Linked DNA regions of Homo sapiens: region 2 is linked to region 1. The links are contacts of gene promoters, found by promoter capture Hi-C in blood cells and fetal thymus (Javierre and others, 2016). All regions are on one chromosome and are shown on one strand. Each heading gives the region's core, a stretch centred on a gene start or on the middle of the fragment in contact. The rest is flanking DNA. Distances are from core to core; before and after follow the strand shown. Region 1 holds the start of WDR88 (WD repeat domain 88). Region 2 holds the start of NUDT19 (nudix hydrolase 19).

What was found. The method cuts DNA at HindIII sites, captures the fragments that hold promoters and counts their contacts. A CHiCAGO score of 5 or more calls a contact.
Region 2: the fragment with the promoter of NUDT19 here is called in contact with the fragment with the promoter of WDR88 in region 1 in 2 of 17 cell types (total CD4 T cells and erythroblasts); the score reaches 7.1 in total CD4 T cells.

Annotation. Positions count from the first base shown.
Region 1 is chr19:33,129,548-33,136,623 of GRCh38, reverse strand. It overlaps WDR88 (WD repeat domain 88), which reads right to left and starts at 4,510. Exons shown (of 11, transcript NM_173479.4): 1 at 4,179-4,510. The coding sequence starts at 4,454. It overlaps GPATCH1 (G-patch domain containing 1), which reads right to left. Exons shown (of 20, transcript NM_018025.3): 20 at 6,082-6,494. The coding sequence ends at 6,464. RefSeq lists enhancers at 35-174, 1,617-1,666, 4,504-4,673 and a silencer at 1,747-1,866. The HindIII fragment of the contact is 21,697 bases long and covers 1-7,076 here.
Region 2 is chr19:32,687,402-32,694,477 of GRCh38, reverse strand. It overlaps NUDT19 (nudix hydrolase 19), which reads right to left and starts at 2,657. Exons shown (of 3, transcript NM_001105570.2): 1 at 1,804-2,657. The coding sequence starts at 2,517. It overlaps NUDT19-DT (NUDT19 divergent transcript), which reads left to right and starts at 2,182. Exons shown (of 2, transcript NR_186320.1): 1 at 2,182-3,115. It overlaps LOC124904690 (a long non-coding RNA gene), which reads left to right. Exons shown (of 2, transcript XR_007067226.1): 2 at 384-1,513. RefSeq lists a silencer at 2,285-2,694. The HindIII fragment of the contact is 6,189 bases long and covers 1-2,829 here.

The sequences.
Region 1 (7,076 bases), core at 3,261-5,760:
GTCACTGCACTCCAGCCTGGGTGACAGAGTGAGAACTGTCTCAAAAAGAAAAAATAAAAATAGTTGATAGCACATGAAAAGATTCTCAGCATGACTCACCACATCAGGAAAGTGCAAATGAAAACCATAGTGTGGCCGGGCGCGGTGGCTCATGCCTGTAATCCCAGCACTTTGGGAGACCGAGGCAGGCGGATCACCTGAGGTCAGGAATTCAAGACCAGCCTGGCCAACATGGCAAAACCCCATCTCTACTAAAAATACAAAAATTAGGCCAGGCACGGTGGCTCATGCCTATAATCCCAGCACTTTGGGAGGCTGAGGTAGGTGGATCACCTGAGGTTGGGAGTTTGAGACCAGCCTGACCAACATGGAGAAACCCCGTCTCTACTAAAAATACAAAATTAGCCAGGCATGGTGGCGCATGCCTGTAATCCCAGCTACTCATGAGGCTGAGGCAGGAGAATCGCTTGAACCCGGGAGGCGGAGGTTGCAGTGAGCCGAGGTCGTGCCATTGCACTCCAGCCTGGGCAACAAGAGCAAAACTCCATCTCAAAAAAAAAAAAAAAATTAGCCGAGTGTGGTGTTGGGCACCTCTAATCCCAGCTACTTGGGAGGCTAAGGCAGGAGAATCGCTTGAACCTGGGAGGTAGAGGCTGCAGTGAGCTGAGATCATGCCACTGCACTCCAGCCTGGGTGACAGAGCAAGACTTCGTCTTAAAAAATAAAAGAAAAGAAAGAAAGAAAGAAAGAAAAGAAAACCAAAGTGTGATACTGTGTCATATTTGTTAGGATGGCTATCATCAAAGTCCCATAACAAGTGTTGGCAAGGATGCCAATAGTTGGAAACCTCCTACATTGCTGGTAGGAACGTAAAGTAGTGCAGCCACTTTGAAAAACGGGCGGTTCGGCCAGGCGCAGTGGCTCACGCCTGTAATCCCAGCACTTTGGGAGGCCAAGGTGGGTGGATCACCTGAGGCCAGGAGTTCAAGACCAGCCTGGCCAACATGGTGAAACCCCGTCTCTACTAAAAGTACAAAAATTAGCCGGGCATGGTGGCACATGCCTGTAAGCCCAGCTACTGGGAGACTGAGACTGGAGAATCGCTTGAACCTGGGAGGCAGAGGCTGCAGTGAGCCAAGATCACGCCACTGCACTCCAGCCTGGGCAACAGAGCGAGACTCCATCTCAAAGAAAGAGAAAATGTGTCATGGCCATGCAACAGAATATTACTTGGTAATGAAAAGGGAAGGGAGCACTGCTACAGGCTACAACATGGATGAACCTTGAGGACGTTAGCTAAGGAAATGAAGCCAGTCACAAGAGACCACGTATGGCTTGATTCTATCGCTATAAAAGGTCTAGAATAGACAAATCTATGGACAGAAAGCAGAATTGCCTGGTGTCGGCAGGATGGGTATTGGGGAACTGGGGAGTACAGTACTCTGAATACCCTAGAAACCACTACAGCTTCTATGGTTAAATTATATGGTACGTGAATTATATCTCAGTAAAACTGGGGGGAAAAAAAGAGGACAGAGCAGGGAAGCCTGAAGATGTCACCCCCCCCACCCACCCACCCCAGCTCGCGCATGGCGACACGTCCCAGGTTGAGCTGCGGAAGTGTGGGGGTGGGGGAAATGTTGGAGGCAAGACCAGGGGTGTGGCCTGGAAGGCAGTGTCAGGGTGCTGGGCTGAGTTGGCAGGAGGACAGGGGTGAGGGGATGCGACGGTTCAGGGCGGCGGTGGCCTTCCGGTTGCAGGTGATGCGGGGCGGGGGGGGGGGTGTCGGGGACGTGCAGGTGGAGATGCAGGGGATGAGATGATACCCCGCCTCTAGGGGGCTCGGGGACACGAGGACACTGGAACGCGGGCTCCGTTGCCAGGGAGCGTGGAGAGCTGGGACCGGGCTTTTCTCCGGGGGAGTTCGCTAACCCCGTCGGGCCAGGCCGGGGCCGCGCGTGCAGGGTTGGCTCCCTACCCCAGGAGCGGCCCCAGTCCCCGGGACATGACCTGCGCGGCCCTCCCGCACCGCCCCCGCCTCTGGCGACCCCAGCCCCTGCCGCCCCTGCAGGGTTTGGGTTATCTCTCTCATTAGGAAAACCCAACTATCATTAAAAATTGAAATTAAATTGGCTGGGTGCAGTGGCTCACGCATGCAATTCCAGTGCTTTGGGAGGCCCAGGAGTGAGGATTGCTTGAGGCCAGGAGTTTAAGACCAGCCTGGGCAACATGGCGAGACTCCCCCTCTCTACAAAAAAAATCAAAATTAAAATTAATAATTTAAAAAATATATAATTTAATTTAAAAAATAGGAAAACAAAAAACCTAGAACTCCATCATGGAAAAACATTAGCAAGAGGGGGGAACCATTCCGCTACCCCCACCACAGGCTTTTCTGGGGCTCTCGTTTCAGGTTTTTTTCTGCACACAGTCCCTTGGGATCCACTAGGTAAAGGGGTCCCAGGGGCTGCAGAGAGAAGTCCCCAACACATGAGTACATTTCAGAGGTGCTGACAAAGCTCATGCAGAGGACAGAGCAAAAACAAAACGGTTCTTCTATGCGTAGCGTTCATTCACATATTCCACAAATAAACCTCAAGAGCCTCCTCCCCCATGGGGCCTGGACCTGATGCTGCAGCTCAGCAGCCACCTAGGAGCAAAGTCCCTAACCTCGAGGGGCCAGTTGCTGGCAGCCAGAGGACACCTTGAGGACGGAACGGGGATGTCAGACCATGGCATGAGGCACGGAGGAGACAGTGGCCCTGGCTACTTTAGACGGGCGGTCAGGGAGGGCCTCCCCAAGAGCGCAATACCGTGGGGGCAGGGAACCGCCAAGATCCCTGAGGCCAGACCTGCTTGTAGGTCAGCAAGACAGGGGGATGGGGGAGGAGAACATGGAGAGGTGCCAGATTTGAAATGGCCTGGAAGGCCACAGGCAGATCGCCAGACTTCATCTTAAACATGCTGGGAAGCCAGGCAGAGGTTTCGAGGAAATTATTAAAAACACACTCTGACATCTGCATGTGAGTGCAATAAATCAAGGCCAAGCATGAAACGCTACTTATTGAGAATGTTCTTTATTGGGTTTTTGTTTTGTTTTGTTTTTGAGATGGAGTGAGATGATCTCAGCTCACTGCAACCTCTGCCTCCCGGGTTCAAATGATCTTGCTGCCTCAGCCTCCTGAGTAGCTGGGATTACAGGCACGCACCACCATGCCTGGCTAATTTTTGCATTTTTAGTAGAGAAAGGGTTTCACCATGTTAGCCAGGCTGGTCTCGAACCCTTGACCTCAAGTGATCTGCTCATCTCGGCTTCCCAAAGTGCTGGGATTACAGACATGAGCCACTGCACCCAGCCAGTTTTTCTTTCTTTCTCCTTCTTTCTTTCTTTTTCTTTTTCTTTCTTTCTTTCTCTCTCTCTCTCTATATTTATTTATTTATTTATTTATTTATTTATTTATTTATTCTGGAGACAGTCTCGCTCTGTTGCCCAGGCTGGAGTGCAGTGGCACAATCATAGCTCACTGCAGCCTTAAACTCCTGGGTTCAAGGGATCCTCTTGCCTCAGCCTTTCAAGTGGCTGGGACCACAGGTGCGCCCCATCACACTGGGCTAAGTTTATTTCTTGTAGAGACGACCTCTCACTATGTTGCCCAGGCTGGTCTCAAACTCCTGGGCTCAAGTGATCCTCCCACCTGGGCCTCCCAAAGGGCTGGGATTACAGGTGTGAGCCACCTTGCCTGGCCCAATTCATTGTTGTTATTATTATTCTGAGTTTCCCGTTTCTTCTGACGCTAACTGTATCTCCTGGACGGGGAGAGCTGAGCCACCGACCCTTGGGCTGCAATTAGGAGCATCACTGTGGGTGGGCCTACCTACGGAGACTCCAAGGTCTAGATGGGGTCACATGGTGGGGCAGAGCCTCCTCCCAGCGAAGAGTCCTGGTTCCCCAGCAGGTGGCAGTGCGGGGAGCCCCCGCCGGCATCCCCAGCACGCCCTGCTCAGGTGGGTCTGACCTTTGCCCACAGATGTACCACAGATGGGGAAATGGGCCTAGGGCCTCGCTGGGGGTCCTGGTGAAGCCAGGTGGGTTTTCCATGGGTCCCCCGACAGCTCGAGCGCCTTCCTCCCGTGTGGGGAACAGGCCAGTGCCCCCTCACCCCAGCGGCGGTTCTGACCTTGGAGAGAGGGTCCTGGTCGCCCCAGATCAATTTCTCCGGCACCTGGTGCTTCTCAGGCAACAGATGCGGTGGTGGTTCCCTGTCCAAGGCCAGGGGGTCGAGGGTGGCCAGCAGGTGCGTGTGCGGGATCGACAGCTTGAAGCGGCCTAAGGCCCTCGCCATGGTCCCCCAGGACAGCTTGCCGGGACAATACTCGCTGGCGGGGGCGGAGGGTGGCGGCAACTTGCATTCCCTGTCATGGGCTGTCGGGGAGCACCGCGGCGGGGAGGCCATCTCGAAGCCCGGTCCGCCGGTGGCCGCCGACAAGCCTGGATGGGAACGGTGGCGCCGCGCGCCCGCGCCCGCGCCCGCACCAAGCCCTTCGGAGGCGCGCGCTACGCTGGGCCCGCGACTTCGCTGCCTCCTCGCCCGCTGGGTGAAAACTAGTGCCACCCCGCGCAGCACAGGTTACCTATAGAAAAATGGGCTTTGCAGCCGGGCGCGGTGGCTCACGCCTGTAATCCCGGCACTTTGGGAGGCCGAGGCGGGCGGATTACCTGAGGTCAGGAGTTGGAGACCAGCCTGGCCAACAGGTTTAGTGAAACCCCATCTTTACTTAAAAAAAATAATAACAAAAATTAGCCAGGCATGGGGGCGTGCGCCTGTAGTTCCAGCTACATGGGAGGCTGAGGCAGGGGAATGGCTTGAACCCAGGAGGTGGAGGTTGCAAAAAAAAGAAAAATGGGCTTTGCATTCTGGGAACCAGGCCGAGCCAGCAAAACCAGCACCCCAGCCTCCAGCCCTCCGCTGTGGTTTCCCTGGCTCCTGTCACAGGGCAATTTCTTCATGTCCTCTGCCTGGGTACAGCTCCTGGCCAACCCACTTCATGACAAAACAGAAAAGGTCAGTAAGTTATGGGGTAGCCCCTGCATGAAATAAGATGCAGTTATTAGGGGTGGGTTTACAACATTTATAATAGATGAGGGAAATATCTGTCACAACCCCAACAACAGTGACAGGGAATAAAATGCTACCACCAGTCAGATAACAGCCCCATAGCTAGAAAAGGACAGGGTGGAATTATTCAAAATATTGAAGAAGGGTGTCATCTTTGGATGATAAAACTAAAAGTGATTTTCTTCCTTCTTTTTTTTTTTTTTTTTTTTTGGTGGAGACAAGAGTCTGTCACCCAGGCTGGATTGCAGTAGCGCAATTTCGGCTCACTGCAACCTCCACCTCCAGGGTTCAAAGGATTCTCGTGCCTCAGCCTCCCACACAGCTGGGATTACAGGTGTATGCTCACCAGACCTGGCTAATTTTTTTGTATTTTTAGTAGAGACAAGGTTTCGCCATGTTGGCCAGGCTGTTTTTGAACTCCTGGCCTCAAGTGATCCGCTGGCCTCGGCCTCCCAAAGTGCTGGGATTACAAGCATGGGCCACCGCACCCGGCCTCTTCCTTCTTTCTGCTTTTAAAATTGTTGTGATCTATGATGCTACTTTCATAATGTAAAATACAAATGCTCAATACTTTATTTTTTGTGGAGACAGGGGTCTCTATGTGGCCCAGGCTGGTCTGGAATTCCTGGGCTCAAGCAATCCTCCCGCCTCGGCCTCCCAAAGCTCTGGGATTACAGGCATTAGCCATCACACCTGGTCTGCACTTTATTTTTCAAAAAGGTCTCCTTGGTACACATGAGGTGGCCTCAGAGCAGGGAGCTGCAGCCGTGTAACCCAGGCTGTGGGTGCACATTCTCCTGCCTGGTTTCCCTGCCTGTCTCAGACACTTTAGTGACATCTACCCTGAGAGGCTGAGGCCCCCTGCCAGGCCCTGGCTCTGCCCTCCCATGGGGCTTCCTGGGCACCAACAGTAACCCAGCCACCCAGAGAGGGAAGAGCTTCACTCCCAAAAAACGGCAGGAGGGGCCGCAACCGCCCCTTCTCACACGCTTGTCCTTCAGTGAGTCCAGGCTGTCTTCATCACAAAACCAGAGAGAAGCCTTCACTTTTAACTTCTTTTTTAACGTCCCAGGAAATTTTTTAAAAATCAAGAAGAAAATAGAAAAATTCCACTTTAATTAAACTGTTCAGTCTGGATTTTTTTCCCCCGATACTAACTGAAATTAAAAATAGAAATCAATTTCTGCGACCTTTCAAGGCAGTCTTTGAAATGTCAAGGTTTTAAAAATTATTTTACAGCAGGAATTTACATATAAATACACTCTGTACAATGCGTTAACTGAACAATCACTGGGCTTCCATCATGGAGGAGAAATGATTCTAGGACGAGCCAGGGCAGCATTCAATTACTGCCTTCTTAGTGGAAGACTTTTCAGCCTGGAAAAGAAAACAGAAAAGAGAGAAATGGAAAGTTAGCTAAAGTGAAAAACCAAACAGCTCCGTGGAGGCTGAGAATGCCAGGCCTCCCCATATCACAGCAGCATGTCTGCACCTACAAAATGCACTCACAATAACCCACAATGAAGTACTGCCTAATCTGTGCTTTTTTTTTTTTTTCCCCCGAGATGGAGTCTCACTTTTGTCGCCCAGGCTGGAGCGCAGTGGTGCGATCTCAGCTCACTGCAACCTCCGCCTCCCAGGTTTAAGCAAGTCTCCTGCCTCAGCCTCCAGAGTAGCTGGGATTACAGGCACATGCCACCATACCCAGCTAATTTTTGTATTTTTAGTACAGATGGGGTTTCACCATGTTGGCCAGGCTTGTTTCGAACTCCTGACTGTGATCTGCCCGCCTCGGCCTCCCAAAGTGCTGGGATTACAGGCATGAGCCACCGTACCCGGCCAATCTGTGTTCTTAAAATGCTTCTTCTATTACCCTGAAAACACACAGAGACTCACTCACCCACACCTCGTATTAAGACCACTTATAAAAGCAACTTTTTTCCCTAGTCTTATTTAGCC
Region 2 (7,076 bases), core at 1,408-3,907, 440 kb after region 1:
CAAAGTATTTCTCAGACAGTTTGCAAGAAATAACAAAATCTATTCAGTAAGGATAGTAACTACAATCCCAAATAGACTCTGGCAGCAGTGACTCTCCAAAACCCCCGAGGCCTAGACCTCCTCACTGCTGAGAAAGGAGGACTTTGCACCTTAGGGGAAGAGTGTTGTTTTTACACTAACAAGTCAGGGATAGTGCAAGATGCCGCCCGGCATTTACAGGAAAAGGTTTCTGAAATCAGACAACGCCTTTCAAACTCTTATACCAACCTCTGGAGTTGGGCAACATGGCTTCTCCCCTTTCTACATCCTGTGACAGCCGTTTTACTATTACTCGCCTTCGGGCCCTGTATTTTTAACCTCCTTGTCAAATTTGTTTCCTCTAGAATCAAGGCCATCAAACTACAGATGGTCTTACAAACGGAAACCCAAATGAGCTCAACTAACAACTTCTACCGAGGACCCCTGGACCGACCCACTGGCCCTTTCACTGGCCTAGAGAGTTCCCCTCTGGAGGACACTACAACTGCAGGGCCCCTTCTTTGCCCCTGTCCAGCAGGAAGTAGCTAGAGCAGTCATTGCCCAATTCCCAACAGCAGATGGGGTGCCCTGTTTAGAGGCGGGATTGAGAGGTGAAGCCCCTGGACTTCCTGGGTCCAGTGGGGACTTGGAGAACTTTTCTGTCTAGCTAAAGATTTGTAAATGCACCAATCAGCACTCTGTAAAAACGCACCAATCAGTGCTCTGTGTCTAGCTAAAGGTTTGTAAATGCACCAATCAGTACTATGTAAAAACGCACCAATCAGTGCTCTGTCTAGCTAAAGATTTGTAAACGCACCAATCCGCACTCTGTAAAAATGGACCAATCAGCACTCTGCAAAATGGACCAATCAGCAGGACATGGGCAGGGCCAAATAAGGGAATAAAAGCTGGCCACCCAGCCACCAGCACCCAACCTGCTCTGATCCCCTTCCGCTGTGGGAGGTTTGTTCTTTTGCTCTTTGCAATAAATCTTGCTGCTGCTCACTCCTTGGGTCCGCACTACCTTTATAAGCTGTAACACTGACCACAAATGTCTGCAGCTTCGCTCCTGAAGCCAGCGAGACCACAAACCCACCAAGAGGAACAAACAACTCCTGACGCACCACCTTTAAGAGCTGTAACACTCACTGCGAAGGTCTGCGGCTTCAATCCTGAAGTCAGCGAGACCACGAACCTACCAGAAGGAAGAAACTCCAGACACATCTGAACATCTGAAGGAAGAAACTGGACACACCATCTTTAAGAACTGTAACACTCACTTCGAGGGTCCGCGGCTTTATTCTTAAAGTCAGCGAGACCAAGAACCCACTGGAAGGAACCAATTCTGGACACACCAGGAGCTGGAGACGAGCCTGGGTGTGCAACACAGAGAGACAAGACCCCCATCTGTACCAAAAATAAATAAAAATAGGAAGACTGGATCATATTAAGTCTGTTCTCCAAGAAAACCAAATTAAACGGCTGTGGAGATGTACTATGTCTACACATGTACAAGTGCTTACACAGTGGCCACGCTGGAGGAACCACGTGGAGAGACAGGCTCCAGGCCTTGAGACCCCAAAGCCTAGGAAAGCAGAGAGCACTTCACCAAGAGCATGGCTTTGGTCTACAGGGGTGAGAGTTTCCAGCCCGTCTAAGCGTTCCTTGCTGCTTAATCTCTCTGGGCTTGGCCTATGCGGGGGTCCCTTGGGGGCCTGGGCCGCTGGGAGGGGTCCTCCCTCTCACGTCCTGGCGGTCCGCAGCAAGGCCCTGAGCAGGCCTTACCTGGTAGCCCACCACCTCCGCCAAGTCGGGGTAGACGGGCGGCGGCTCGCGCAGGCAGCACAGGAAGAAGGCCGTGTCAAAGCGGCGAGTGGTGCCCCGCAAGAAAGGGGTGAGCCAGGCGCTCCAGTTGTGCAGCGCCCAGATGTCGGGTGTGCAGTCGAGGTGGGCGCACAGCCGCAGGAAGTGGCGCGGGTCCTGGCGCACGCGGTCGCGCCAGGAGGCCAGGCCCGGCGGTGGCTCCAGGGCGAGGCCAGGCCCGGGTGCTGGGCCTGGTGGGGAAGTCCTGGGCCGCAGCAGCAGCACGCCCGCCTCCTCAAAGGCCTCCCGCACGGCGCAGATGCGGAAGGCTACGTCCTCAGGCAGCGTCCCAGTGTTGTCGGTCTTGTGGTCATCGGTGTCGGGCAGCGACGGGAAAGCGGTGCGGCTGAATGGCGCCGGGCCCAGGCCGAAGCGCGGCGGCCCGTGGTGCGGCGCGAAGAGGCCCAGCCAGTCCGCCGAGCGGTCGGCCGCATCCAGCACTCCGCCGGAGAAGACGTGCGCGCCCGGCATGAAGCCTTGGTGCGGGGAGCGCTGCAGCAGCAGCAGCCGGAAGCCCTCGGCCGGCGGCGGGCGCGACGGCGGGGTGGCGGTCTCCGGGCGCGACCAGCCAGCCGCCAGGACGATGCTGGCCGCCCGCCGCCAGCGGCTGGGGCCCGGCCGCAGGGAGCTGCTCATGGCGCGCAGCTTCCCGGATCCGATTCTGGCGCGGCCTGAGCTCCACGGCAGGTGGCCCGGCCCTGCAGGGACCCCAGCACCTCCGGGGGCCTCGCGGGAATTGAGGACGAGCCTCTGGCGTTGGGTGAACCTGGGCGTTTGGTCGGCAACGGCGCCTGCCTGTGGGAGGGGCACCCGAGCAGGGACCGCCTCGAGTGCACTGGGGCCCAGCTAGGGCACTCTCGCGGGACAATGGGTGTCACGGCAGCCAGCGACCGTTTGTCATTCACAGCTGCCTGAAAGGAGGACCGCAGTATTCCCACGCAGGAAGCTTGGACCAAAAGCAGGAATGCTTAAGGGCGCATATGACTTGCCATGGTAAAAAACAGGATGCCAACCCAGGCCTGATGACATCCACCTCACTAAAAGCTAAGGACTAGGACTTTCTGCTTTAAACAAGGACCCACATGTGGGTGTTTTCTGTGGGAGAGGGAGAGAGGACATTCGAAGGGCAGAAGTCTGACCTTTGCAAGCACACGTGAACCACACCAATGAGAAATGAATGGACGAGCCAGATGCCAATTTATAAATTTCCTACTGCACACCTTGAATGTGAAAGGTACTCCCAGAGTAATTTCTCTCGTGTTCTGGTTACCTTTTATTGTCAGGGCGCCTGGGGACGGCCTTAGGTGTCTTAGGACATTTGACGAGTTCCACTTTGATGGGAGATGTTTAATCTGGGCCTCCACATGGAGATTTCTCTCCACCTTGTTAGTGTCTAGAAGACTTCCACCTCCAATAGCAGGATTATGATCTTTTGAAAAGCCTGTGTAAATTTGAGTCTTTTCTTTTATAACTCCTTATCAGTCACCGACAGCTTTTCCCATAATTGCTATTATAATTGGATCACACATTTGTTATGTTTTTGGATGAAATACACTATACCCCTGCCGACCCTCACAAACCATCATTTTAATGTGGGTTATTTCCTGGGTAGAATCCACAGATGACATTGTCAATATTTAGGGGTTTTGTTTGTTTTTTTGTTTGAAGAGACCTGGTCTCTGGCCAGGCGCTGTGGCTTACACCTGTAATCCCAGCACTTTGGGAGGCCGAGGTGGTCGGATCACCTGAGGCCAGGACTTCAAGACCAGCATGGCCAACATGGCAAAACCCCGCCTCTACTAAAAATACAAAAATTAGCTGGGTGTGGCGGCCCGCGCCTATAGTTGCAGCTACTCAGGAGGCTGAGGCAGGAGAATCACTTGAATCTGGGTGGAGGTTGCTGTGAGCCAAGATCCTGCCACTGCATTCCGGCATGGGTGACAGAGCGAGACTCTGTCTCAAAAAAATAAATAAATAAATAAAATAAAAATACAGAGCAATGGAGAGAAAGGCACTCAGGTGATTAAAGTAACATGTCTTCAATACTAGGAGTAATAATAATCCTAGGGGATAATAATATTAGTAGTTACTGGGTACAGTGTGTGAGGCACTAGGAACTTTATTAGTATTAGTTGTGTAATTCTTACAAAACCCCATGAAGTGGAAACAGTTACCACTATTTTACAGATGACTAACCATTTATGGAGGGATTAAGGGTCTTAAGAACATACTACTCCCTTTGCTGTAAAATAACACCGTGGTTTTGTAGGTGAATGTGTGTGTTTCAACATCAGCTGGTTTTCACAGAAGCTGGTTACTCATGAGTGAGATGACCAAGTCCTGGTCCTGGGTGCATAGCAAAACAACAGAAACTGAACCTTTTTTTTTTTTGAGAGGGAGTCTGGCGCTCTCACCAGGCTGGAGTGCAGTGGTGCGATCTCGGCTTACTGCAATATCTGCCTCTCGGGTTCAAGCAATTCTCCTGCCTCAGCCTCTGGAGTAGCTGGGATTGCAGGCGCATGCTACTACGCCTGACTAATTTTTGTATTTTTAGCAGAGACAAGGTTTCATCATGTTGGTGAGGCTGGTCTCTAACGCCTGACCTCAAGTGATCTGCCTACCTCAGCCTCCCAAAGTGCTGGGATTACAGGTGTGAGCCACCACACCTGGCAGAAACTGGACCTTAACCAACACAGAACAGTGTCCAAAATGTGCACACTGCCATGACTGTCATATTTGGGGCACTGAGATGACACAATTACAGTTTATGGATTCAGAGATCATGTCATATAAACTCAGTTATCTGAACTGTAGCCAAGAAATGATACAGAAGCAAAGAACTATCCATGAGCATTCAAAGAGATACAGATATCATATTCATATCTAAAGTGCTCTGCTCACAGGATAATTTGTGGATATGTTATTTACCTAATGCTGTTAACAAATTAGTCAAAAACTTGGTGGATTAAATCAATAAACACTTATTGTCCAGGCATGGTGGGTAATGTCTGTAACCCTAACACTTAGGGAGGGCGAGGCGGGAGGATAACTTGAGGCCAGGAATTCAAGACCAGCCTGGGAAACACAGTGAGACCCCTCCTCTTAAAAGAAAATTAGTGGGGAGGTGCAGTGGCTCACGCCTATAATCACAGCACTTTGGGAGGCCAAGGTGGGCGGATCACAGGTCAGGAGATCGAGACCATCCTGGCTAACACGGTGAAACCCCATCTCTACTAAAAATACAAAAAATTAGCCGGGTGTGGTGGCAGGCGCCTGTAGTCCCAGCTACTCAGGAGGCTGAGGCAGGAGAATGGCAAGAACCCGGGAGGCAGAGCTTGCAGTGAGCTGAGATTGCGCCACTGCACTCCAGCCTGGGTGACAGAGTGAGACTCCGTCTCAAAAAAAAAAAAAAGAAAAAGAAAATTAGCTGGGTGTGGTATCACATGCCTGTAGTCCCAGCTACTCAAGAGGCTGAGATGGGAGGATCGCTTGGGCCCAGGAGTTGGAGGCTGCAGTGAGCCATGATCACGCCACTGCACTCCGACCTGGGTGACAGAGCAAGACTCTGCCTCAAAAGAAAAAAAAAGATGGGGCACAGTGGCTCACACCTGTAATCCCAGCACTTTGGGAGGCCGAGGTGGGTGGATCACCTGAGGTCACAAGTTTGAGGCCAGCCTGGCCAACATGGTGAGACCCCGTCTCTACTAAAAATACAAAAAATAAAAATAAAAATTAGCTGGGTGTGGTCGTGGGCACCTGTAATCCCAGCTACTCGGGAGGCTGAGGCAGGAGAATCGCTTGAACCCGGGAGGCAGAGGTTGCAGTGAGCTGAGATAGTGCTACTGCACTGCAGCCTAGGTGAGAGAGCAAGACTCTGTTTCAAAATCAAAAGCAAAACAAAACAAAAAAAACAAGAAAAACAAACAAAAAACAATGGACATTGATTATCCCACCTTTTCTGTTGATCAGGGATTAGGGACCACCTCCATGTGGTGATCCTAACTCAGTATCTCCCATGAGGCTGTGATCAGCATGTCAGCCAGGGCTTGTCCAGCACTGGGAGATCCACTTCCTCAATGGCTCACTCACATGGCTGTTGGCAGGGGGCCTAGTTCCTTACCGCATGGATCTTTCCATAGGGTTGCTTCAATGTCTTCAGGACTTGGTGGGTAAACTTCTCCCAGAAAGAATGATCCATGAGAGAGGAAGAAGCCATGATGCCTTTTATGACTTAGCCTCAAAAGTTACACTTCAGGCTGGGCACAGTGGCTCATACCTGGCAATCCCAATACTTTGGGAGGCCAAGATGTGTGGATCACCTGAGGTCAGGAGTTGAGCCCAGCCTGGTCAACAGGGTGAAACCCCGTCTCTACTAAAAATACAAAAATTAGCTGGGTATGGTGGCGCAGAAGAATTGCTTGAACCCAGGTGGCAGAGGTTGCAGTGAGCCAAGATCATACCACTGCACTCCATCCTGGGCGACAGACTTAGACTCCATCTCAAAAAAAAAAAAAAAGAAAAGAAAAGAAAAAAGAAAAAAAACCTTTTTAAAAATCATTCTGAGAAATTATTTTTAGGTGGTTATTCATTTTTTTTTTTTTTGAGACAGGGTCTCACTCTGCGGCCCAGGTGCAGTGATGCTATCACAGCTGACCAGAGCCTGGACACCCCCAGGCTCAAGTGGTCCTCCCACCTCAGCCTCCTGAGTAGCTGGGACTACAGCACCACAACGGGCTAATTTTTGTATGTTTTGTAGAGATAAGGTTTTGCTTTGTTGCCCAGGCTGGTGTTGAACTCCTGGGCTCAACCAATCCACTTGCCTCGGCCTTGCAAAGTGCTGGAATTACAGACATGAGCTAACGCAGCAACATGAGCCTTTATTTTTATGAGGAGTCTTGCTCCTGTTGCCCAGGCTAGAGTGCAGTGGCATGATCTCGGCTCACTGCAACCTCCGCCTCCTGGGTTCAAGCCATTCTCCTGCCTCAGCCTCCCAAGTAGCTGGGATTACAGGTGCCTGCCACCGCATCTGGCTAATTTTTATATTTCTAGTAGAGACAGGGTTGCACCATCTTGGCCAGGCTGGTCTTGAACTCCTGACCTCATGTGATCCACCCGCCTTGGCCTCCCAAAGTGCTGGGATTACAGGCCTGAGCCACTGTGCCTGGCATTTTTTTTTTTTTTTTTTTTTGAGACAG